Regions from separate parts of the Homo sapiens genome. Here all the other regions are linked to region 1. Evidence: promoter capture Hi-C in 16 types of primary human blood cells and fetal thymus (Javierre and others, 2016). All regions are on one chromosome and are shown on one strand. Each heading gives the region's core, a stretch centred on a gene start or on the middle of the fragment in contact. The rest is flanking DNA. Distances are from core to core; before and after follow the strand shown. Region 1 holds the start of METTL3 (methyltransferase 3, N6-adenosine-methyltransferase complex catalytic subunit). Region 2 overlaps TTC5 (tetratricopeptide repeat domain 5). Region 3 overlaps OXA1L-DT (OXA1L divergent transcript). Region 4 overlaps PARP2 (poly(ADP-ribose) polymerase 2). Region 5 holds the start of PIP4P1 (phosphatidylinositol-4,5-bisphosphate 4-phosphatase 1).

What was found. Contacts are between HindIII fragments. The CHiCAGO score rates a contact against its expected background, and 5 or more counts as called.
Region 2: a contact is called between a fragment that was not itself captured here and the fragment with the promoter of METTL3 in region 1, in 1 of 17 cell types (total B cells). The highest score is 5.1, in total B cells.
Region 3: a fragment that was not itself captured here is called in contact with the fragment with the promoter of METTL3 in region 1 in 4 of 17 cell types (non-activated CD4 T cells, naive CD4 T cells, naive CD8 T cells and 1 more); the score reaches 8.5 in non-activated CD4 T cells.
Region 4: a contact is called between a fragment that was not itself captured here and the fragment with the promoter of METTL3 in region 1, in 1 of 17 cell types (monocytes). The highest score is 7.9, in monocytes.
Region 5: a contact is called between the fragment with the promoter of PIP4P1 here and the fragment with the promoter of METTL3 in region 1, in 3 of 17 cell types (monocytes, erythroblasts and non-activated CD4 T cells). The highest score is 8.1, in monocytes.

Annotation. Positions count from the first base shown.
Region 1 is chr14:21,508,417-21,512,764 of GRCh38, forward strand. METTL3 (methyltransferase 3, N6-adenosine-methyltransferase complex catalytic subunit) reads right to left here and starts at 2,924. Exons shown (of 11, transcript NM_019852.5): 1 at 2,708-2,924. The coding sequence starts at 2,807. RefSeq lists an enhancer at 2,967-3,206. The HindIII fragment of the contact is 13,792 bases long and covers 1-4,348 here.
Region 2 is chr14:20,292,622-20,296,748 of GRCh38, forward strand. It overlaps TTC5 (tetratricopeptide repeat domain 5), which reads right to left. Exons shown (of 10, transcript NM_138376.3): 6 at 3,769-3,825; 7 at 3,087-3,233; 8 at 2,691-2,905. Among named protein-coding and RNA genes, the nearest start is that of TTC5, 11 kb to the right of the region's middle. RefSeq lists an enhancer at 2,435-3,634. The HindIII fragment of the contact is 523 bases long and covers 1,322-1,844 here.
Region 3 is chr14:22,758,993-22,763,447 of GRCh38, forward strand. The region is part of intron 1 of OXA1L-DT (OXA1L divergent transcript); the gene reads right to left. Among named protein-coding and RNA genes, the nearest start is that of OXA1L-DT, 5.3 kb to the right of the region's middle. The HindIII fragment of the contact is 252 bases long and covers 1,448-1,699 here.
Region 4 is chr14:20,346,515-20,350,997 of GRCh38, forward strand. It overlaps PARP2 (poly(ADP-ribose) polymerase 2), which reads left to right. Exons shown (of 16, transcript NM_001042618.2): 4 at 349-399; 5 at 4,012-4,108. Among named protein-coding and RNA genes, the nearest start is that of PARP2, 5.1 kb to the left of the region's middle. The HindIII fragment of the contact is 2,313 bases long and covers 1,477-3,789 here.
Region 5 is chr14:20,460,074-20,464,552 of GRCh38, forward strand. PIP4P1 (phosphatidylinositol-4,5-bisphosphate 4-phosphatase 1) reads right to left here and starts at 1,361. Exons shown (of 7, transcript NM_144568.4): 1 at 1,111-1,361; 2 at 582-772; 3 at 119-225. The coding sequence starts at 1,252. RefSeq lists enhancers at 681-1,647, 1,576-1,645, 1,648-2,613, 1,946-2,025 and silencers at 816-985, 1,046-1,455. The HindIII fragment of the contact is 6,669 bases long and covers 1-1,927 here.

The DNA of each region.
Region 1 (4,348 bases), core at 1,674-4,173:
ACATGTTTAGCAAGGACCTGGATCAAAGTATCAAGGCTCTAGTAGTTAGGTCTGCATACAGCAGAAAGTTTGGTTAATACCAAAATGTAGTTAATGTCATAGAAAAATGAAATGAAACTTAAAATGACCAAGAGCAATTAGAATCATTCATTGAAAGAGTATGAATTTAGAAATGGAAAAGTATAAAGAAGTATGATGCCGGGCACAGTGGCTCACACCTGTAATCCCAGCACTTTGGGAAACTGAGGCGGGCAGATCAGCAGAGGTTGGGAGTTTGAGACCAGCCTGACCAACATGGAGAAACCCCGTCTCTACTAAAAATACAAAATTAGCCAGGAGTGGTGGCACATGCCTGTAATCCCAGCTACTCAGGAAGCTGAGGCAGGAGAATCACTTGAACCTGGGAGGCGGAGGTTGCGGTGAGCCAAGATCGCGCCATTGCACTCTGGCCTGGGCAACAAGAGCGAAACTCCATCTCAAAAATAAATAAATAAGTATGATGAGGAACAATTAAAACCAAGAAACAACAAACAACACCACAGATAGAGGATGGCCTGTCACAAAAACGACAGAAAGGTGAACACAAAGTAGTCAATGATGTAGTACACCAATATAGCGGCTTTTTAAAAGTTAATTTTGTAGGCCAGGCATGGTGGCTCACGCCTGTAATCCCAGCACTTTGGGAGGCCAACGTGAGTGGATTGCTTGAGCTCAGGAGTTAGAGATCAGCCTGGGCAACATGGTGAAACCCCTTCTCCACCAAAAATACAAAAAATAGCTGGGCATGGTAGCACACGCCTGTGGCCCCAGCTACTTGAGAGGCTGAAGTGGGAGGATCGCTGGAGCCCGGGAAGTCAAGGCAGCAGTGAGCCATGATCATGCCACAGCACTCCAGCCTGGGTGACAGAGGGAGACCCTGTCTCTAACTAACTAACTAAATAATTTTGCAGATCACTTTGTTGAAACAAACAACTACCTGATCCTCAGGTCCCCTTTTGCAACTGCCATTGCTGAATGGGAAAAGACTCCACAGGAAAATTAAATAGGCTGGATATGGTGGCTCTCACCTGTAATTCAAACACTTTGGGAGGCTTAGGCAAGAGGACAGCTTGATGCCAGGTGTTCAAGACAAATTTGGGCAACATAATGAGACCATATCTCTATTAAAAAGTTAAAAATTAGCCAGGCATGGTGGCATGCACCTGTAGTCCTAGCTACTCAGGAGGATGAGCCGGGAGGACTGCTACACTCCAGCCTGGGCAACGGTGAGAGACGCTATCTCAAAAACAAAAGCAAAAAAAGTCGTTGGCATCATTTATGCACATTTTTAAAAAGTTTCAAAACAGGAAACCAAAGAATAGGGGAAAAAACATAACAAAACAAAAAATTGTATCTATAAATAAATCAATGAAGTTTCTAGAGCAAGGGAAAAAAAATTCTCCCTCTTAGGTAATTCAGGAACTACTCTGAGACTTGACTACTAATTATTGCCTGACCATATGACTTGCACTTCTTACTCCACTATCCTCCCCTCTTACCTCTTTAATTATCTAGGTCCTATATAGCCATAAAGGCCAAATTCAAGTGCCAATTCCACTATGATGGTTTTGATGGCTTCACTACCTACACCAGCTCTTGTTACTTCTCTTCATTGTACAGACTGTAGATTCATTCATTTGGTTTCGTACATATATCTTATCATATTCCTCACTTTTTGTAAGCGTCTCCCCTTGAATCCTATGCTTTTTAAACTTCTTGAGGACAGGGGCAATTTCTTCCTTATTTTTGTCTAATTAGACCCATGAACACTGTAGATACTCAAGAAAGGTAATTAATTAGGTGGGAGGATCCTGCCAGTGCATCTTCTATTTCTAGGGGCCAGAATACGAGCACATGAACCTAACATGATCTAGACAAGATTTAGAGATGCAGTTGAAGATACTGACAAATATTGGAACAATCTACCACAAAGGTGATACTGAGTCACTATTTTTGCAGAGCTTTGTTACTAGTTTGCCTTAAATAATTCAGAGTTTGTCCTGAGGGTAGGGAGTGGATAACAGTGAATTTAATCTTTTAAATTTCCTTCAAGTTTTATGATCGTGACACGGGGGCAACAGGAGAAGAGAAAAAGTTTGGAAACCAAACACAAATGTTTTCAGATTCCTGCTAGGTATGTAAATGGCTAAGTCAATGCCGGTAGGGGTACTCATTCAGAAACACCCAGTGCCACTCTGTACGGGCCACTAAATTGGGCACTGCGGATATAAAGGTTCATTCCTCGCTTACTGTACCCACAGCTGCCAAGAAATGACCACTACAAAACAGTCGTTATAACTGAGGGAACAAAGCGCCAAAGCAGCAACAAAAAGGGGTTCTTGCTGCTTCGCGGGATAGGGGGCTGAGCAGCCTCACAAAGGCGACGTCCTCGCAGTCTGAAGAGGAGTGGGCAAGGCGGACGAGGGTGGGGCTCAAGCGTCCGTCCGGTAAAAGTGAGCTGGAAGAACCGAGGCCCAGCGTGAGGAGGAACCGCGAACTACTTGCAGAAGGGCGAACGTCTGCTGCTGAAGGTGGAGAGGGAGTACCAATGTACGAGGCTTTATAGAAATGGCCGTTTGGTAAAGGGCAGTGACTCTGGAGCTTTTTCTCTAGGGATCCCGCCCGTCCTCCCCGGTTGAGCCTCGGCCCCAACAGCCCAGTGCCTCACCCAAGTGCCCCGAGTCCTGCTTCCGCCTCCGCTGCAGCCTCTCCCGCAGAGAGTCCAGCTGCTTCTTGTGGGCCTGGATAGAGCTCCACGTGTCCGACATCCTAGTCTCCCAGCCCTGACACCTCTCGAATAAGGCGCGGCGGACTAGCACCTCCCAGCACTCGCTCCAGGATATAGCCAATTCTCACGCGGACACCCCGAAGGCTAACCGGAAAATGACCCCTGGAGCTGAGCAAGACAGAAAAGTCATTTCCGGTGTCGCGCTTTCTTGGAAGCTATAAAGAGCCACGTTAGGTGTTGGCAGAGCGGCCGGTATAGTCCTCATACCCGCTCTCTCATGCTTCCGGACACAGTGAGGCTGTGGTTGCCATGTTGGTGACTGGCAGAGCGGCCATGTTGCTTATAGACGCGCATGCGGCCATGTTGAATATTCGGAGAGGAGTCCTGAGAGTTGACTTGTGTTAAAGTAGCACTCGTAGAGAGCAACACCATATAGTACAGTTTTGGGGGTTTTTTTCTTTTTTTTTTTTTTGAGACGGAGTTTCACTCTGTCGCCCTGGCTGGAGTGCAATGGCGCGATCTCGGCTCACAGCAACCTCCACCTCCCGGGTTCAAGTGATTATCCTGCCGCAGCCTCCCGAGTAGCTGGTATTACAGGCGCCCGCCACCACGCCCGGCAGATTTTTTGTATTTTTAGTAGAGACGGGGTTTCACTGTGTTGGCCAGGCCAGTCTCGAACTCCTCACCTCGTGATCCGCCCTCCTTGGCCTCCCAAAGTGCTAGGATTACAGGCGTGAGCCACCACACCCGGCCATAGTACAGATTTTTAAGATGAAGGATCACTAGTTCCTTTTGACAGTTTGGTACTAACATACCTTTTCCACTGAAGGTGGTGTTGGTTTGTTTCCATGCGTTCATTTACAAAAAAATAAAAAACACAACGGTGGTCCCCAATCTGAGGTGAGGAGGGGGCGGTGGTGGGTGCGGGCATGCTTCTTTGTGTTGACGAGGCGTGGGGAAGTGGGGAGGGCTGATGAAGGAAAAATCCGAGAGGTCTTCAAATACGTGATCTCTCTCTTAGGCTAAATTTACAAAGTACGTGTAATCTATTAAAATCGGGTTCCGACACTAAGAGGGCTTTGAGGTCCTGGTTGCGTTGTGTTTTTTGTTATGAGAGCTACCTGCATGAGTGTGTTCAGTTTGTGAAATGTAATTGAGCTGAACATTTTGGTGTGCACTTTTCTGTATGTGTAGTAAACTTAAATACAAGGTTGGTGGTGGTGGTTTTTCCTACAATCCTTTCTTTCTTTCTTTTTTTGACACATTTTCTTTTTTTTTTTTTTTTGAGATGGAGTCTCACTCACTCTGTCACCCAGGCTGGAGTGCAATGGCGTGGTCTCAGCTCACTGCAACCTCCGCCTCCTGGGTTCAAGCGATTCTCCTGCCTCAGCCTCCCGAATAGCTGGGATTACAGGCGCGTGCCACCACACCTGGCTAATTTTTTTTATTTTTAGTAGAGACAGGGTTTCACTATGTTGGCCAGGCTGGTCTCGAACTCCTGACCTCGTGATCTGCCCCTACGATCTGCCCCCCTGCCTCAGCCTCCCAAAGTGCTGGGATTACAGGCGTGAGCCACCGAGC
Region 2 (4,127 bases), core at 333-2,832, 1.2 Mb before region 1:
AGATACCAATCCAGCTATGAATGACCTATAGTCTAGCAGGAGTCAGACAATGAAGTCATCACTTACAGCACAGTGTGATGGGTGCTAGAATAGCTTTTCCCTTGTGCTGAATTCAATGAAGCCACAGATTGGGCTGTGGGAGCCCAGAGGACAAATATCTAAATCAAAATTGGAAAGCAGGGAAGATTTCCTGGAAGAGGTGACGCTCAAAGTGAATCTTAAAGGGTAAAAAACCAGCTGGGTTAAAAGAGAAAAATTAATCCTCGGTAAAAATGTTAAAAACCTCTGAGGGGATAGGAACAGAGATTTTGACTTGGAGGCAACATCAGGGAACTTCCCAGAATGGTGGTAATGATCTCTATTTGGGTTATACAGATATTTTCCATTTGTTAAAAGCTATGAAATGTACGCTTAAAATTGTACATTTCATTGTATGTAAATTTTACATAAAAAGAAAAAATTGAAACAAATACTGAACTCAGTTAATGACTGCATGCTAAAGTATGTAAAGTATATTGATCTCTGCAATTTACTCTGATAGCAGGATAAACAGACTGATATGTAATAAGCTAAGTAAAATAAAATATTAATGGTAGAATATAAGTGGATGAGAACACAAATGTTCAATGTAAAACTCTTTCAACTTAGCTATATGTTTGAAAATTTTTATACAAAATGTTGGGGGCAGAAGAGGATGTTAGCTATGTCAAGAAGAAGCTAGAGATTATCCAGGCAGAGTAACTGTATGTAAGACACAGAGGCATGAAAACAGCTGTTCTAAAACCAACAAAATTGTTCCATGGTTGAAACAAAAGGCACTGGTGGGAAAGAGACAAAAGATAATAGAAAGAGAAGCAGGGAGCAAATCATGAAGGACTTTGTATGCTAACCTAAGTAGTTCACACTTTATCCCAAAAGCTACATATAGTACCAGTAAGGGATCTTAAATAAGAAGTAGCAATGGTCAGATTTCCATCTAAGAAACATTTCTCTGGCAGCACTGTGGAACACTGGAGGAAACCAGAGAATCAGGGAGACCTATCTGGAGAAGTGATAAGGGGGTGAATTAAGGTGGTAAACACAGAGAAGTCAAGTCTATAGGACAAAAAAGGCAAATCTTTTTGGAGAATGGAGAAGCCTATTCTTCCAAAAGTCTTAATCAAGTGACTGAGAGGTGATACCATTCATTCACAAGGAATCCAGGGAGGAGAAGCAGGTTTACAGAGAAAGATTTAGGTGAGTAATACTGAAATACTGAGTTAGAGATTTCTTATTGGAACCCAGAAGCAGATGGTTATAGGAATCCAACACTTGGAAATGAAGCTTGGGCTGGAGATATATCTGTAAGCATATAGGAGGCTGCCAAAGCCTTGGGTTTATATGACATCACAGGGCAAGATGATCTATAGACAGGATGGAGAAGAATCACACTCATGCCATCACGTGACATGCCTGAATTCACAGGAAATATTGCAATCAAGCAAAGCACTCTCCTGATGAATCCAGTCAAAGCCTCAGAATCCTTCTACACAGTATGTCAGGCAACCACTGACAAGTGATCAAAGTTGGCAACTATAGGCCATCCTGATATAAAGAGAAAAAAGGAAAAAAACAAAAATAGAGTCCTGGGAACCTAAGATTTAAAAGTTAGGCAGAAAAAGAGAAACCAAGGAGTGGCAAAATATCTATTTGTTCTCAAGGTCCTCCAAAACCTACCTTTGTCTATATCCCTTTCTAATTCTTCTCAGCTCTAGGATTTGCTCTAGTAAACTAAACTGTTCTCAACTATCTTTTTGCCCTTCAACTCGTCAAATATACAAACCCCTAGAAAATGCCATGGAGAAAGCTTGGGCATATAATGGGAATTGTGAATATTTCTGTTTAGATGAACAGAAAGGATGTGAAAAGCAATAGTGAGAGATAAGTCAGAATGTTTTGGAACCATGCAATAGAAGTTGCTGGATCCAGTGCCTAGAAAGACAATGGTGATCCTAGGAAAATAACAATTTCAGTAGAAAAGAGAAAGGGGAAACCGGTCAACCAGGGATTAGGAAGTGAGTGAAGGACCAAGGAGTGGTGGCATTCACTAAACCGTAACTTTTCAAGATCCAAAAATTTTCTAAACAAATATTCTTAATTCATTTCCTCTGCTGCTAGAAGCACCTGCACCTGGGTCCTTTACATTTCTTTTTTCTCACTCCCTATGACACATATATTACACACTCAATAAATATTTGTTGAATGACATCTAAGACAATCTCCCAACCAGACTTTAAATTATAACTCAAAGCTCACTTTTCAGAACTAAGTATACCTAAGTACAAACAGGACTAAGAAATTTGTCCTCCTTCAACTTCTATGATCATGAAAATGCAAAGGGACAGAAGAATTTTGAGGTTTCTGTCTTATAAAAAAATATGTCCTGCCAAATTTCAACTATGGATATAGGAATCCACATAGCACCAAACTCAGGGATACAAAATGGGCAGTGACAGAATCTACAAAAGCCTCTGATCAAAAGATGGTTAAACATCACCCAGACAATATCTGCCCACGGGATAGTCACAGAAGGAAATCAGAAGTCACAAATCTGTGACCACTGACAATCTCCTCAACTGCCAGGGAAAGAACAGGAAGTGAGAGCAATTAGTTCAAAAGGGTAAAATGGGGGAAATCCAAGAGAAACTCACAAGGGGACTTTCTCCTCTGTGGTGAGGCTAAATACCACCTTTCCCAGGATGACGGCACCGCTGTTCACCCCAGGCTGAAGCGTACTCAGTGGCTTGAGCTCCAGGGTCACTTTCTGCCCAGAGGCTGACTGATAGTGCCCATCACTGCAAGGGCCTAGATGGGCTGGGCGCAAGCTTCCCAGCATGCTCTGCAGCTTTTTGGTCTTCACCTTTCCCTGCAAAGAAGGGGAAATAGGTAAGAAGCTGGAAACTAGTCGCCTTCCTTGAGATTCTAATCCTTCCCTCCCACCCACTTCTATAGGGTCTCTACCTCGTAAACCTATTTATTCTTATTTTATTGACCCACGACAAAATAAAAAAAAAAAAAGTGGAATTCAGCCCTTCAGACATTTTTACCTTACTCTCAAGGAGGCTGGTTAATCTATCCAGGAATTCCAGAAGTTGTTGCTCTCGTTGCCGGGGCTCTGGCCAGGCAGGGTCCAGGGCTGCAGCCCGAGAGAAGCCCTCCAGGGCCTCCCCATAACTCTCTTCATATTTATGCAACTGTACAAGAAGTGTATCCCAATTATAAGTATATCCAGACAAACTATCCCGAGGGAATGGCACCATGGGCTAGGAATCTAGAGAAATAAACTGTTTTCCTTCCTGGTTATTTTCCTGTGCTGCAACAAACAGCCTGAAGAGCTGGTAACACCTTACATCCTTCTTCCTAGCCAAGATGATCACAACCCCAAAGATGGAATCATTTCAAAGAAGCTAATTTCCAAACTCTAAAATAGTTAAGTTGTATATATTGGCTCACTTGACCTTTATATTTACTTAACATTTCAGAAGTCTTCTAAAAGATCCCCCCATTCTCTACCTATTCTTCCACCTCCACAGCCCCTTCTCCTTTCCCTCCAGTGACTACACCAGATACTGAAGCCAAACCGAGCTAGCTATTTATAGAAATAGCATGGCTTTCCTCTCGCAGTCTGTACCCAATCTTGTCCCTATGCAAACTCAGTTATCCTCACAAGCTAAGACATAGGTGTCTTATTTATTTGACCCTCAGATGACTACACCCCAAAGGTCTTACCGTCGCCCTGTTCAGATGAAGGTCAGGATTGCTAGAAGCTTTTCTGTCAACTTTCTCCTATAATGGGATGAAAAGATTATCAGTGGATCCTGTCTCAATGTTAAGGACTGACATGCCCAACATGTCCTACGCCTCCTCTTTCTAGAGAAATGGAAGTTTCTTCCTTGCCAAAATGGTATTTATACCACAGAAGCAGTTACCGTATAACAGTGTGGATATCTTAGTCCCAAAACCTTAGGGATATAAGTGTTTTTGTATGTGTGAGACTTCAAAATATTATTATAATTTATCCATGTAGTAGTATTAAGATAGAATAAATCTTTATATAAATGAAATATGTGGGCCGGGCACAGTGGCTC
Region 3 (4,455 bases), core at 324-2,823, 1.2 Mb after region 1:
CTTCTTAAATAGCAAATCCCTAGAGACTACATCTTTTAAAAGATTGCCTGATTAAGCCCAAACAGCATTCTGCATAGGGAGAAATCATCCGTGCATAATTAATGACTGAAAATTACACACAGGTCTTTAACACGGAGACGTGATATTACAAACAATGAAAACACAGAGTCCCTCAAAAAAAAAAACAGTGTATTTTTGCAAAAGGCAATATTGTTTTCCTTTATTGTTCATTCTGCCTGGAATGCCATGCTATTTTCTTTATTTTTATCTTTCTTTCTCTGTATCTATTAATTAAGGCCAAGATTAAAAATGGTTTCCTCCATGAAGCCATCCCTGATGTATTCTTAGACATAATCTCTCTCATCAGAACTACCCAAGCACTTTATTCATTTATCTCATAAGGCACCAAAGACTAAATGTCCATACCAGGTGACAAGGCAAAGTAATTATCCAGAGAATAAACTTTTTAAAATTTTTCACTCAAAATATATGAATTAATCGAGACAAATGTACTATTTTGACAGGGAAGTGTCCTCTGTAAACTGTTTTTTTACTTATGAATAAAATTTATTTATGTATAACTTACATAAAATGTGCCCATTTAAATGAATAGTTTGCTGAATTTTGATAAATGTATTCACCTACTTAACCACCACAATAATCAAAATATAGATTATTTCTTTTATTTTTTTGTTTTTGTTTTTTGAGACGGAGTCTTGCTCTTGTCGCCCCAGCTGGAGTGCAAGGCACGATCTCAGCTCACTGCAACCTCTGCCTCCTGGGTTCAAGAAATTCTCCTGCCTCAGCCTCCCAAGTAGCTGGGATTACAGGCGCCAGCCATTGTGCCTAGCTAATTTTTGTATTTTTAGTAGAGATGGGGTTTCACCATGTTAGCCAGGCTGCTCTCAAACTCCTGACCTTGTGATCCTCCTGCCTCAGCCTCTCAAAGTGCTGGATTACAGGTGTGAGCCACCGGCCCTAAATTTTTTTTAGAGATGAGATCTCACTATGTTGCTCAGGCTAGTCTTGAACTCCTGATCTTTTTTTCTTTTTTTCTTTTGAGATTAAGTTTCACTCCTGTTGCCCAGGCTGGAGTGCTCACTGTAACCTCCATCTCCCGGGTTCAAGCGATTCTCCTGCCTCAGCCTCCCGAGTAGCTGGGATTACATGCATGTGCCACCATGCCCAGCTAATTTTGTATTTTTGGTAGAGACGGGGTTTCTCCATGTTGGTCAGGCTGGTCTTGAACTCCCGACCTCCGGTGATCCGCCCACCTCAGCCTCCCAAAGTGCTGGGATTACAGGTGTGAGCCACCATGCCTGGCCTATTCTCTTAACTTTCTATTCCTTTTCTTACACTTACTTAAGGTCCAATGTGCTCTTTTCTTCTATCTTATTAAAATGGATGCTCATGTGATATCAGCAAAATGGTGGACGACAAAGCTCCAAGCTTTCATTATCCAACAGAAACTTCATAAAACAACCAGAAATGAGCTGAACTAACCTGTAAGAGCTCCAAAAAACAGTTAAAGGTTTACAGTAACCAAGTGAATGCCCACCTTCCAAATGTTAAGAAAGTTTTGTCGTGTCTTTATTTGCCCTCGTCCCCTCCTCCTCCCTGATGCGGCAGTGCTCTTAGTCTGGAAGAGGCAGCAGCCTAATTCCAAGTTCCCTCCCTTAAATGGAAGGGAGAAGAGCAAAGCTTTTTGCAAATTATTGTGCGCATATGGGGGTTACCTAAAGGACTGGCCTCAGGTCTCAGAAAAGCGGTAGTCATTGCTCATGAAAGCTGCAAGGAGACTACAGACCCACTGACATGTGGAGTAAAAGACTATGGGTGGATACATACAGTAGACCATGTAAGGCCCCAGGAGAAACCGGACTGAGACTCTTTAGGAAATAAGACATTCAAAAGCAGCCATGTATATGGGGAAATTGGGAAGTTACACATGCCCAGGTAAGACACTTGGTCAGAAAAGCCCTGAAAAGACCTTAAGCCTTCACCTCAGCTGATCCCTAGGCTCAAAGCAAGCCTTGCTCAGTGCTGAAGAACTGTACCAGTATAGAGCCAATCTGCAAAGACTAGGGGAGTTAGCTGTTTTTTCAAATGTCTACTTTTCAACAAAAACTACAAAAATTACAAGGCATACAAAGAAACAGGAAAACATGGCACATTCAAAGGAGTAAAATTAATTGGCAGAAACCATTTCTGAGGACATCCAGACATTTGACTTACCAAAGACTTTAAAACAATTGTCTTAAATTTGCTCAAAGAGCTAAAAGAAAACATGGGCAAAAAACTAAAGGAAATCAGGAAAATGGTATATTAACAAAATTAGAAAACCAAGAAAGGGACAAAAATTGTAAAAAGGAGCTAAACAGAAATTCTATAGCTGAAAGACACAATAACTGAAATGAAAATTTACTAGAGGAGCTCAAACACAGAAGAATCAGTGAACTTGAAAATAAGACAATTGAAATTTTCAAATCTGAGGAGCATAAAGAAAAATAAATAAAGAAAAGTGGATAGGCCAAGTGAGGTGGCTCATGCCTGTAATCTCAGCACTTTGGGAGGTCAAGGCGGGTGGATCACTTGAGGTCAGGAGTTCGAAAACAGCCTGGCCAACACAGCAAAACCTTATCTCTGCCAAAAATACAAAAATTAGCTGGACATGGTGATGAGTGCCTGTAATCCCAACTACTCAGAAGGCTGAGGCAGGAAAATTGCTTGAACCTGGGAGGCAGAGGTTGCAGTGAGCCAAGATTGTGTCACTGCACTCTAGCCTGGGCAACAGAGTGAGGCTCTGTCTCAAAAAAAGAAAAAAAGAAAAGTGGACAGAGACCAAGGAACTTGTGGAATACCATTAAGTAGACCAACATATGCATTACGATTCCCAAAGAGGGGTTAGAGAAAGGGGCAAAAAGATTATTTGAAGAAATGGCTGCAAACTTCCCAAATTTGATGAAAGGCACTAATCTACAAATCCAAGAATCTCAATAAACTCCAAGTAAAATAAATCCAAAGAGACTCACACTGAGACACATTATAATCAAACTGTTGAAAGACAGAGAATCTTGACAGCAGCAAGAGAGAAGCAACTCATAATGTACAAGTGATCCTCAATAACACTATCAGCTGAAGTCCAATCACTCTGAGGGAAAAGAAAAAAAAAAAGACTACTGGCCATTTTCTCAGCAGAAACCCTGGATGCCAGAACGCAGTGGGATAATACATTTAAAGTGCTTTAAAAAAAAAAAAAACTGTCAGGACAGGCATGCTGGCTCACACCTATAACCCCCAACACTTTGGGACACACCAAGGTAGCTGTGTAGATCACTGGAGCCCAGGAGTTTGAGACCAGCCTGGGCAACATGGCAAAACTTTATCTCTACAAAAAAACCCACAAAAATTAGTTGCACCTGTAGTCTCAGCTACTCAGGAGCCTGAGGCAGGAAGATCACTTGAACCTGGGAGATCAAGGCTACAGTGAGCCATGATCACACCACTGCACTCCAGTCTGGGCAACGGAGAGAGATCTTGTCTCTTAAAAAAAAAATTATGCGAAATCTACTCTGCCTGTGTTCTATAAAGGGAACAACAAAGCCTGGATGACAGCATATCTGTTTACCCTACAGTTTGCTGAATATGTTAAGCTCATTATTGATACCTACCCCTCAGAAAAAAAGATTCCTATCAAAATATTATTGCAGGCTGGGCACAGTGGCTCATGCCTGTAACCCCAACATTTAAGGAGGCCAAGGCAGGAAAATCACTTGAGGCCAGGAGTTCGAGACCAGTCTAGGCAACACAGCAAGACTCAGTCTCCATTAAAAAAAAAATTACTGACCATTGATAGTGCACCTTGTCACCCTATAGCTCTGATCGAGATGTACAAGGAGATTAATGTTGTTTTCATGCCTGCTAACACAAAATCTTTTCCTTAGCCTGTGGATCAAGAAGTACTTTTGACTTTCAAGTCTATTATTTAAGAAATATATTTTGTAAAGTTATGGCGGCCATAGATAGCAATTCCTATGATGGATCTGGGCAAAGTCAATTGAAAACCTTTTGGAAAGGATTCACCCTCCTAGATGCCATTAAGAGCATTTGTGATTCATGGGAGGAGGTGAAAATATCAACATTAACTGGAGTTTAGAAGAAGTTGATTCCAACCCTCATGGTTGATGTTGAGGAGTCTAAGACTTTATGGAGGGATGTAACTGCAGATGTGGTAGAAACAGCAAGAGAACTAGAATTGGAAGTGGAGTCTGAAGATGTGACTGAATTGCTACAATCTCATGATAAAACTTTAAGAGATGAGGAGTTGCTTCTTCTAGACAAAGTGGTTTTTTGAGATGACATCTACTCATGGTGAAGTTGCTATGAACATTGTTGAAATGACAACAAAAGATTTAAAATATCATATAAACTTAATTGACAAAGCAGCAGCAGGGT
Region 4 (4,483 bases), core at 1,383-3,882, 1.2 Mb before region 1:
GTAGAGACGGGGCTTCACCATGTTGGCCAAGCTGGTCTCGAATGCCTGACCTCAAGTGATCTGCCCACCTTAGCCTCCCGAAATGCTGGGATTGCAGGCATGAGCCACCATGCGCAGCCTAACTCAGAATCTTTTGTATAGTTAAAAAAAAGGAAGCATGTTTTCATTTATAGTAAGGTTACACCCAGGTTACTGGTAGAACATAGGTTTGCAATTCTTTCCTTGGGAGATGAATGTTGATGTTGCTGTAGAATGATGACTTGAGCCATAAGAAAATTTAGAGCCTCATTTAGGATGTCAGGGCTGAACCTATACTAATGTTGATTTTTTCTCTCTCTCCCTTTCTAGGCTCATGTGTATTGTGAAGGAAATGATGTCTATGATGTCATGCTAAATCAGGTAAGAGGCAAGAAGAGGTGGCACCATTATATTTATGAGACCATCTTCTTGATAATTATTGATGATAGCATCACAGTGTTCAGATCTTTAAAGTCCCTTTTTTTTTTTTTTTTAAATTTTGTTTTTTCTTTTTGAAATGGAGTCTCACTTCATCTCTCAGGCTGGAATACAGTGGCACAATCTCGGCTTACTGTAACCTCTGCCTCCCAGGTTCAAGCAATTCTCCTGCCTCAGCCTCCCAAGTAGCTGGGGTTACAGGCGTGCACCACCACTCCCAGCTAATTTTTTGTATTTTTAGTAGAGACAAGGTTTCGCCACGTTAGCCAGGGTCTGGTCTCGAACTCGTGACTTCAAGTGATCCACCCACCTCAGCCTCCCAAAATGCTGGGATTACCAGGTGTAAGCCACCACGCCTTGCCTAAAGTCCTTCATATGTGTGTGTGTATATATATATATATATATATATATATATATATATATATATATTTTTTTTTTTTTTTTTTTTTTTTTTTTTTTTTTTGAGACAGAGTCTTGCTCTGTCACCCAGGCTGGAATGCAGTGGTGCAATCTCGGCTCACTGCAATCTCTGCCTCCTGGGTTCAAGCAATTCTCCAGCCTCAGCCTCCCAAGTAGCTGGGACTACAGGTGCAGTGTCTGGCTAATTTTTTGGTATTTTTAGTAGAGATGGGGTTTCACCATGTTGGCCAGGCTGGTCTTGAACCCCTGACCTCAGGTGATCCACCCACCTCACCCTCCCAAAGTGTTGGTATTACAGGCATGAGCCACTGCGCCCGGCAAGTCCTTTATATTAATATTAGCCATTAGTGGTTAAACACCTGAGTACTCAGCCCTAGCACACTCTTATCAGATAGCAGAGTCCTCTGTGAGAAGATTTTTTTTTGCAAATTTCATATCATTTATTGAAATTGTTAACTCTCTGTTCATATCCTTTTGCACATTTTTTTTTTTTTTTTAAACAGACAGGATCTTGTTCTGTCACCCAGGCTGGAGTGCAGTTTGTACAGTCATAGCCCACTGCAACCTTGAACTTCTGGGCTCCAGCAATCCTCCCACCTAAGCTTCCTGAGTAGCTCGGACTTCAGGCGCATGCCACAAAGCCTGACTAATTTTTAAATTTTTTATGGAGATGAGAATCTCGCTATGTTGGATAGGTGGTCTTGAATTCTTGGCCTCAAATGATCCTCCTGCCTTGTCCTCATGAGGCACTGGGATTACAGGGATGAGCCACTGGGACAAGCTGTTTTGCACATTTTCTAAAGTTATTGGTCCTTTTCTTACTGGTTTCGAGGAACTTTATATAATATGGAGAATAGCCTTTTGTCTGTAATACAAACCACTTGTGTTTTCCAGATTTGTCATTTACCTTTTGGTTTTCCTTATAGTACACTTTTTGCCCATATTGAAGTTTTAAATTTTTTCTGTAGTTAAATTTATTAATTTTTCCTTTTTAAAAAATTTTGGGTTTTTTTTTTTTTAATTTTAGAGACAGTGTCTTGCTATGTTGCTCAGGCTGGCCTTGAACTTGTGACCTCGTGTGATCCTCCAACCTCAGCCTCCCAAGTAGCTGGGACTACAGGCATCTGCCCCCAAGCTCAGCTTTCTTTTTAATCAACCTTTTTCTCTTGTTTACCTTTGTGGTTTTGAGTAGATAATACATTTGCCTCATTAATATATTTCCTGGATATGACTTCATGTTTGAATTTATTGATCCAACATATATAATTTTAACAACCAATTAGTATTTATTTCTTACTATTTCTTCTACTTAAAATACCACGAGCAGATAGAAAATACCTTAAGGTTAGCCAGGTGCAGTGGCTCACGCCTGTAATCCCAGCACTTTGGGAGGCTGAGGCGGGCGGATCACCTGAGGTCGGGAGTTCAAGACCAGCCTGACCAATGTGGAGAAATCCCATCTCTACTAAAAATACAAAATTAGCCAGGTGTGGTGGCATATGACTGTAATCCCAGCTACTCGGGAGGTTGAGGCACGAGAATTGCTTGAACCTGGGAGACGGAGTTTGTGGTGAGCCGAGATCGTACCATTGTACTCCAGCCCTGGGCAACAAGAGCAAAACTCCTTCTCAAAAAAAAAAAGAAAAGAAGGAAAATACCTTAAGGCAGCCAGGTGTGGTGGCTCATGCCTGTCATCCTAGCACTTTCGGAGGCCAAGGCTGGAGAATCACTTCAGGTGTGAGTTCAAGATCAGCCTGGGCAACATGGTGAAACCTTGTCTCTACAAAAAAATACAAAAACACCGGGCATGGGCCAGCTACTTTGGAGGCTGAGGTGGGAGGATTGCTTGAGCCTGGGAGGTTGAGGCTACAGTGAGCTGTGATTGAGCCATTGCACTCCAGCCTGGGTGACAGAGGGAGACCCTATCTCAAAAAAATAAAAAATAAAAACCATAAAAACATTTACAAAAAAATTTTTTAAAGGAAAAGAAAATATCAAGCTGGGCATGGTGGCTTATGCCTAAAATCCCAGCACTTTGGGAGGCCAAGGCGGGCAGATCACTTGAGTTAGGGGTTCAAGACCAGCCTTGCCAACATGTTGAAACTCCATGTCTACTAAAAATACAAAAAAAAATTAGTCTGGCATGGTGGCGTGTGCCTGTAATCCCAGCTACTAGGGAGGCTGAGGCACAAGAAATTGCTTGAACCTAGGACACAGAGGTGGCAATGAGCGGAGGTTGCACCACTGCACTCCAGCCTGGGCGACAGAGCAAGACTCTGTCTCAAAAAAAGAAAATATCTTAGGCTCCTTTTTGTTCTAACATCTAATGACCTTTTTTTTTTCACCAGTGGGCTAAGGTCGTACAATGGCTTTAGAATGTGAGCAAGCAGGAGATAGAGGTAGGAAGGGGCAGCATGCTTAACAAAAAAGAATGCCTCCATATCCAGGGCTCGGCCATACAACACCAGCTGCTATGCCTTATCATGGACTTCTCTCTCTTCACTCTGAGTGATTTACTTACAGATACCTCTTTTTAGATACTGGCCATATTCTCTCTCAGTATCTCCAAGTCAGGTCAGGTTAGGTATGGGACGGATGTGGCAGTGGTTTTGCGTATCCCTTGTCCCCTCCCATTATTGCCCTGCTCTCAGCTCATTGTCAAATTTCTGCAGCTGACAAACAAAAGCTGTGAGTAGAACTGTCAAGGAGTAAGTCATTTAACAGTTGAGCATAACAGGTTTAGACCTTTGGAGCATCCAAATTGTTTTCATTTGGGAAATAATTATTGGGAGTGGATTGGGAGCTGGAAAACACATATAGCTTAGAAAATATCTAAATAGGGAGCTGAGGCAGGAAAAAACTGGAGGAGCCATTCAATGTAGGATATTTGAGGTTGGATAGAGGGTTTTAGGAAGCTTCTAGGCTCCCACTTTAATTCCTAAGAATCCAAAGTTTAATGTATAAGCCCTATTTCTTCTTTATATCTTTAATCTTACAGGAATCTAATTTTCTTGCCTGATGCTATCCTTTTCCTTATGGAAATAACTGGCACCTGTGACGAAGGATGAGTCATTGGTTTATGTGATTTCCATTTGCAAAACTCCTTTTTTTTGTTTTTGTTTTCACTCAACATAGACCAATCTCCAGTTCAACAACAACAAGTACTATCTGATTCAGCTATTAGAAGATGATGCCCAGAGGAACTTCAGTGTTTGGATGAGATGGGGCCGAGGTAATGATTTTTATTGAGATTTTATGAGTTGGCATTCAGAAAGTCAGAAGCAGCTTAGTGGGTGGCCAAAGGATTCTCTGGGTTTAAATTGGGTCAGTAGAGGCTCTGAAGTCTGGGAGAGCCTTAGGAATCAAGTTGAGCATCTTGAAATTGGGGAATGGCAGGCATCCTCCTTAGAGTTCCCACTGGAAAAACTAAGAGCAGCCCATTGAGTCTGAAAACTCTTCTATAGTTGAACTGCTAGTAGTGCTCATAGACTATGGCAGTTAGCAAGTAACTTGTATCAACATGATTAGTTCCCTAAATCCTTTCACCTTTCCCTTCTCCCTTTCCTGCCTGTTTGTCAGATGTTAAGCAGAGAGATCTTGGAGAGCT
Region 5 (4,479 bases), core at 111-2,610, 1.0 Mb before region 1:
AAGCCTTTTCTCCTAAATAAACACTAGGCTCTCTCACCTTTACATTCTCTGTATACGCTCATCCTTTTTTGACTTTCCAGTTCCCCACTTAGGCCCTTCCCCACCTTATGCCTCTTACCAGTAGGGCCGAGGGCATGCAATCCGTTGGGATGTCACTTTGCAGATAAGGAGACAGTTACAGGGGCATCGAACATATTTTTTCCCTGGGGGTGCATTCTTGATTGGCTAGAGAATAATAGGGTCATCAGCAAGCAAACCTCTAATCCCAATCCCCTCCACTTCCCTCCAAAAACACTTTATGAGATCAGAAAAATAAGGTGCTAACCAGGAAGGAGAAATAAAAGAAAGACTATATCATGAGATTTGCAAATAGGAACTAGGCTAGGTGTAAAAGTGAGAGAAAGTGAACATTAGCTTTGGTGAGTGGCTTCTGGGGAAATGGCTGTGTGAGACACCTGGAACTGAAACCTGGGTATCATCAAAAGCACTTGGCTAATAGCCGGAAGGTCAGGGTCTAGAACCAAGACATCAGAAAGAGGATCCAGGAAACAGGGCCCATTTCATAGATATGTGTAACTCACGGTGGCTTCATTGCAGACACCACATTTGACTACATGCTGATGCATCTTGCCTTCCACGTTGATGAGAGATTGGCAGACTCGGCAGGTGATCATAGGGGCACTCCCACTGTCCGGGCTAGTTAAGGGTGAATAGGGGGGTGGGTCCTCCCCAGGCAACACGGCTGGATGCCCCTCGGGAAACGGGGGAAATGCTGGAGAGGAAGCAAATAGAAGGGCTGGGATCACTTACACCCCCACTGATGCTCCACGGTGGTAGGGAAGTCCTTCTGATCTTCAACCCTCTGACCAAGCTCGGAGGGCTTCTCATAATTGGCACTTCTATCAGGTTGCTCAGAACCCCCTTCCGTCCCTAGGCTGTGGTCGCGATTACGGAGGGAAGGAAGCCTCGCCCAGTCACAGGTGCAGCAGTCCCGCACCTGGCGACTGGGACCCGCCTCCGCCCTCGGTCCCGCCCCCTCCCCGGCTTTCAGAGTACCCCGGGGAGCACCTCGGACCCGCCCCGGCTTACCCTGGGGCGGGGCATGTTTACCGGCTCCGTACGGTGGTGCGGAGGGGGTCAGGCCTCCCCCGGGCCCAGCCCCACTCCCGCCGGGCCCCACTAAACCGTTGCCGCCCGCGCCACCGTCGATGGGCTCAGACAGCAGCGGGGAACGCTCTCCATCTGCCGCCATGGCCGCCACCGCCGCCTCCCGCTCAGGTCGGCGATCCGGCTCCCTTCGCCTCTGCCGTCGCCGCAGCCACCGCCACCGCCGCCACCGCCACCGCCGCTACCGGGTCCCCAGGGCGCCTGCGCGCCGCGCGCCCAGCTCACTCCGCAACCAGTGGCCTGCCCCGCCCCGTTCCGTCTAGCAGCACGTGATAGGCTATCCCCGCCCGGGTCATGCTATTATTCGCGTAGATAAACCAATTCCTGGTCCTGTGAAGGCAGCTCTCCTTTTCCATTGGGGAGCGACGCACAAACGTCAACTGTCACATGACCTGCCAGATGCTGCTGGGCTTGCAAAACCTGCACGTGACTAGAGGTTCTGCAAGCTATTGGGAGCGACGCCCATCGCGCTACCTCCAGACCAGGAGGTAGGGCTAGGCTGCGTCTGCTCAACTGGTCACGTGTTTCTGGAAGCTGCACGGTCCCTGTTGCTCTGCTCCTCATTGGTTCAAAGACACCACTAAAACACTTTTCTCCGGCTTTGCGTTGTAGCTGGTTTCCTATTGGCTGGTGACTTTACTTCTTTCGTCCTGTGATCCTAGCGGCGCAACTGCATTGGCCCGAACTTAGCGCCAGAACATGGGGGGCGTGGCTTATGCATTTTAAAGGAGGCTGGGCGGGTGCAATAAAGGAGTGCGGAAGCTTGGGATCTTCTGAGCGGGGAGAAAATGGACGGTGGGGAACAGTAGACAAAGTTAGCTGTTCTACTCAAAGAAGTACCTTTAAAAAGTCAGAGTAATGAGGTACCAGAAGGAAATGGATTAAAAAGTTAAGATTATCACTCCAGCCTTTGTCGCTAGAGTCACTTTCAGGACAGGACACAAGACTGGGTTTTCCTGGAAGCTGTCCTTACAGAGCCCCGTCTTTCCCCATTGCTGATCAAATTGTTAAATTATCTTTTCATTAGTGTCTCCACTACTAGAAGATTTCATCGTTTTACTAAAAAAAAAAAAAAAAAAATTCAATAGAGATGGGGTCTTGCCTATGCTGGACTCAAACTCCTGAGTTTGATCTCCTGCCTAAGCCTTCCCAGTAGCTGGGACTACAGGGACAAGCCACCGTGCCTTTACTCAGTTTTATGACCACCAACCTTTAACATACGCACAAGTTTGTAGATTGGATTAATCAAATACAAGGTTATTTTCGTCACCTTATTTGACAGATGGGACAGTCTTTAGGCCTGTCTCAACTTTGCTTCCAGCAAAGGGGCAGTGCCTCCTCCCCTACCTGAAGTCTCGTGTGGTCTTTATGGGCGCCTGAACCACACCTGGATTTTTTCCCAAGTCATAGCCCAAACTGGGACTGCTTTAAATATGGGAAGCAACAAGGAATTGATAAAAACAATAAACCCCGAGGAGGTCCATTATCAGTTTGGCTAGCAGACTCTCCACTAAGAAAGGAAGTGCATCAAAGAAAGTACAGCCAGCCCCAAATATGTAATAACAAAGGAACTGCAGATGTCCCAGCACTTGGCTGCTACAGGGGCTGGAGACTTCACCTAGGTCCTGATTTTTTTAGACAGGGTTTTCTCAGGCCAACTTCTACTTGGAAGCTAGTAACCTTCGACCAGTTAGATAAGAGCCCCTAACAGACACTTAAAGAACTAAGGAAGCTCCAGATACAAAATAGGGAAGAGGTTGTAGCTCCATAGAGGGAGGCCAGTCTGCTGCTTTTTCTGCTGTTTGTGGCACACAGATGCTCAAGCATTGTCTGGGGTTGGAGTAGGATCCATTATTTGCGCCCTAGTTACACATATATTCCAAAAACTGTCCTAAAAATATTTTTTAAATATCTACACTTTGTGAAAGACACTCCTTAAAAAAGCTTACACTCTGGGTAGGGAGACAGAATAGTGTAAACATTGACAGTATAACATATCAGGTCAGGAGTGGTGGCTCATGCCTGTAATCCCGGTGTTTTGGGAGGCTGAGGTGGAGGATTGCTTGAGCCCAGGAGTTCAAGGTTACAATGAGCCATGATCTAAACCTGGGCAACAGAGCAAGATCGTGTCTCAAAAAAAAAAAAAAAAAAAAGAAAATCAGCACTAGTATTTTATTACATGGAAAAATATCAATACTAGAAATTCATGATACAGCACATGCTTCATAATAAAAGAATTAAACAATGTAATTCAAGTTCAAGAAAAGAAGAGATCACTTCTAGCTAGAGCAGCCAGAGAAAACTTCTAAAACATAAAGAAAAATGAGTATTGTGCATGGATAACTAGGATCTGAGCTCTGTGTTGTTGAGTAGATCAATAGGCAGAAAAATGCAAAAAGTAATCATAATATTTGGAACTTGCTCACAGTTAATAAAGCATTTTTTTTTTTGAGACAGAGTCTCACTCTGTCGCCAGGCTGGAGTGCAGTGGTGTGATCTCTGCCCACCTCCCGGGATCAAGCGATTCTCCTGCCTCAGCCTCCCGAGTAGTTGGGATTACAAGTGTGTGCCACCACACCCAGCTAATTTTTGTATTTTTAGTAGAGATGGGGTTTCACCATGTTGGCCAGGATGGTCTCAATCACTTGAACTCGTGATTCACCCGCCTCGGCCTCCCAAAGTGCTGGGATTACAGGCGTGAGCCACTGTGCCCGGCCAATAAAGCACATTCATAGTTATATTCATTTTATTTCAGAACCCACTGTGATGTGGACAGGGAAGGCAAGACTATATCTTTATTTTACAGATGTGGAAACTGAGGCTGTGTAAACTGGAGTCATTTAAGCTAAGTGACAGATTGAAATGGAGCTCTAAATCCCCGTCTTCTGACTTATGATCTAATATTTTACATTCAAATAATTTGATAGGTAGATTGAAAGGGACAGAAGCACAGAAGTGGCAGAGAGAAGGTGCTTGGGATGAGCCCCCTTTTATGCTAAATGCCTGGAACATAGAAGCTGCTTGATAGATGGCTCTCTAATTAATTAATGAAGTAACTTAAGCCCCATCTTGGGATAAATTTGCTGGGTACTGAACAATATTGTTAGCTGCAGTTGCAAGCAGGGAGGATATTCAGCTGGGGCACTACAGGGTGGCTGGCATTGGTTGTTTATGGCGCCATTGGTTCTGATTGGTTGGTACCTGTATTTTACAGATAAGCCATTTTAATATTATCTCTGGTAAATATTGAGTGTCTCAGGTATTGCCTGATTTTTACCTATGGGGTGGGATCTTCTCACTTAGATTGAGAAC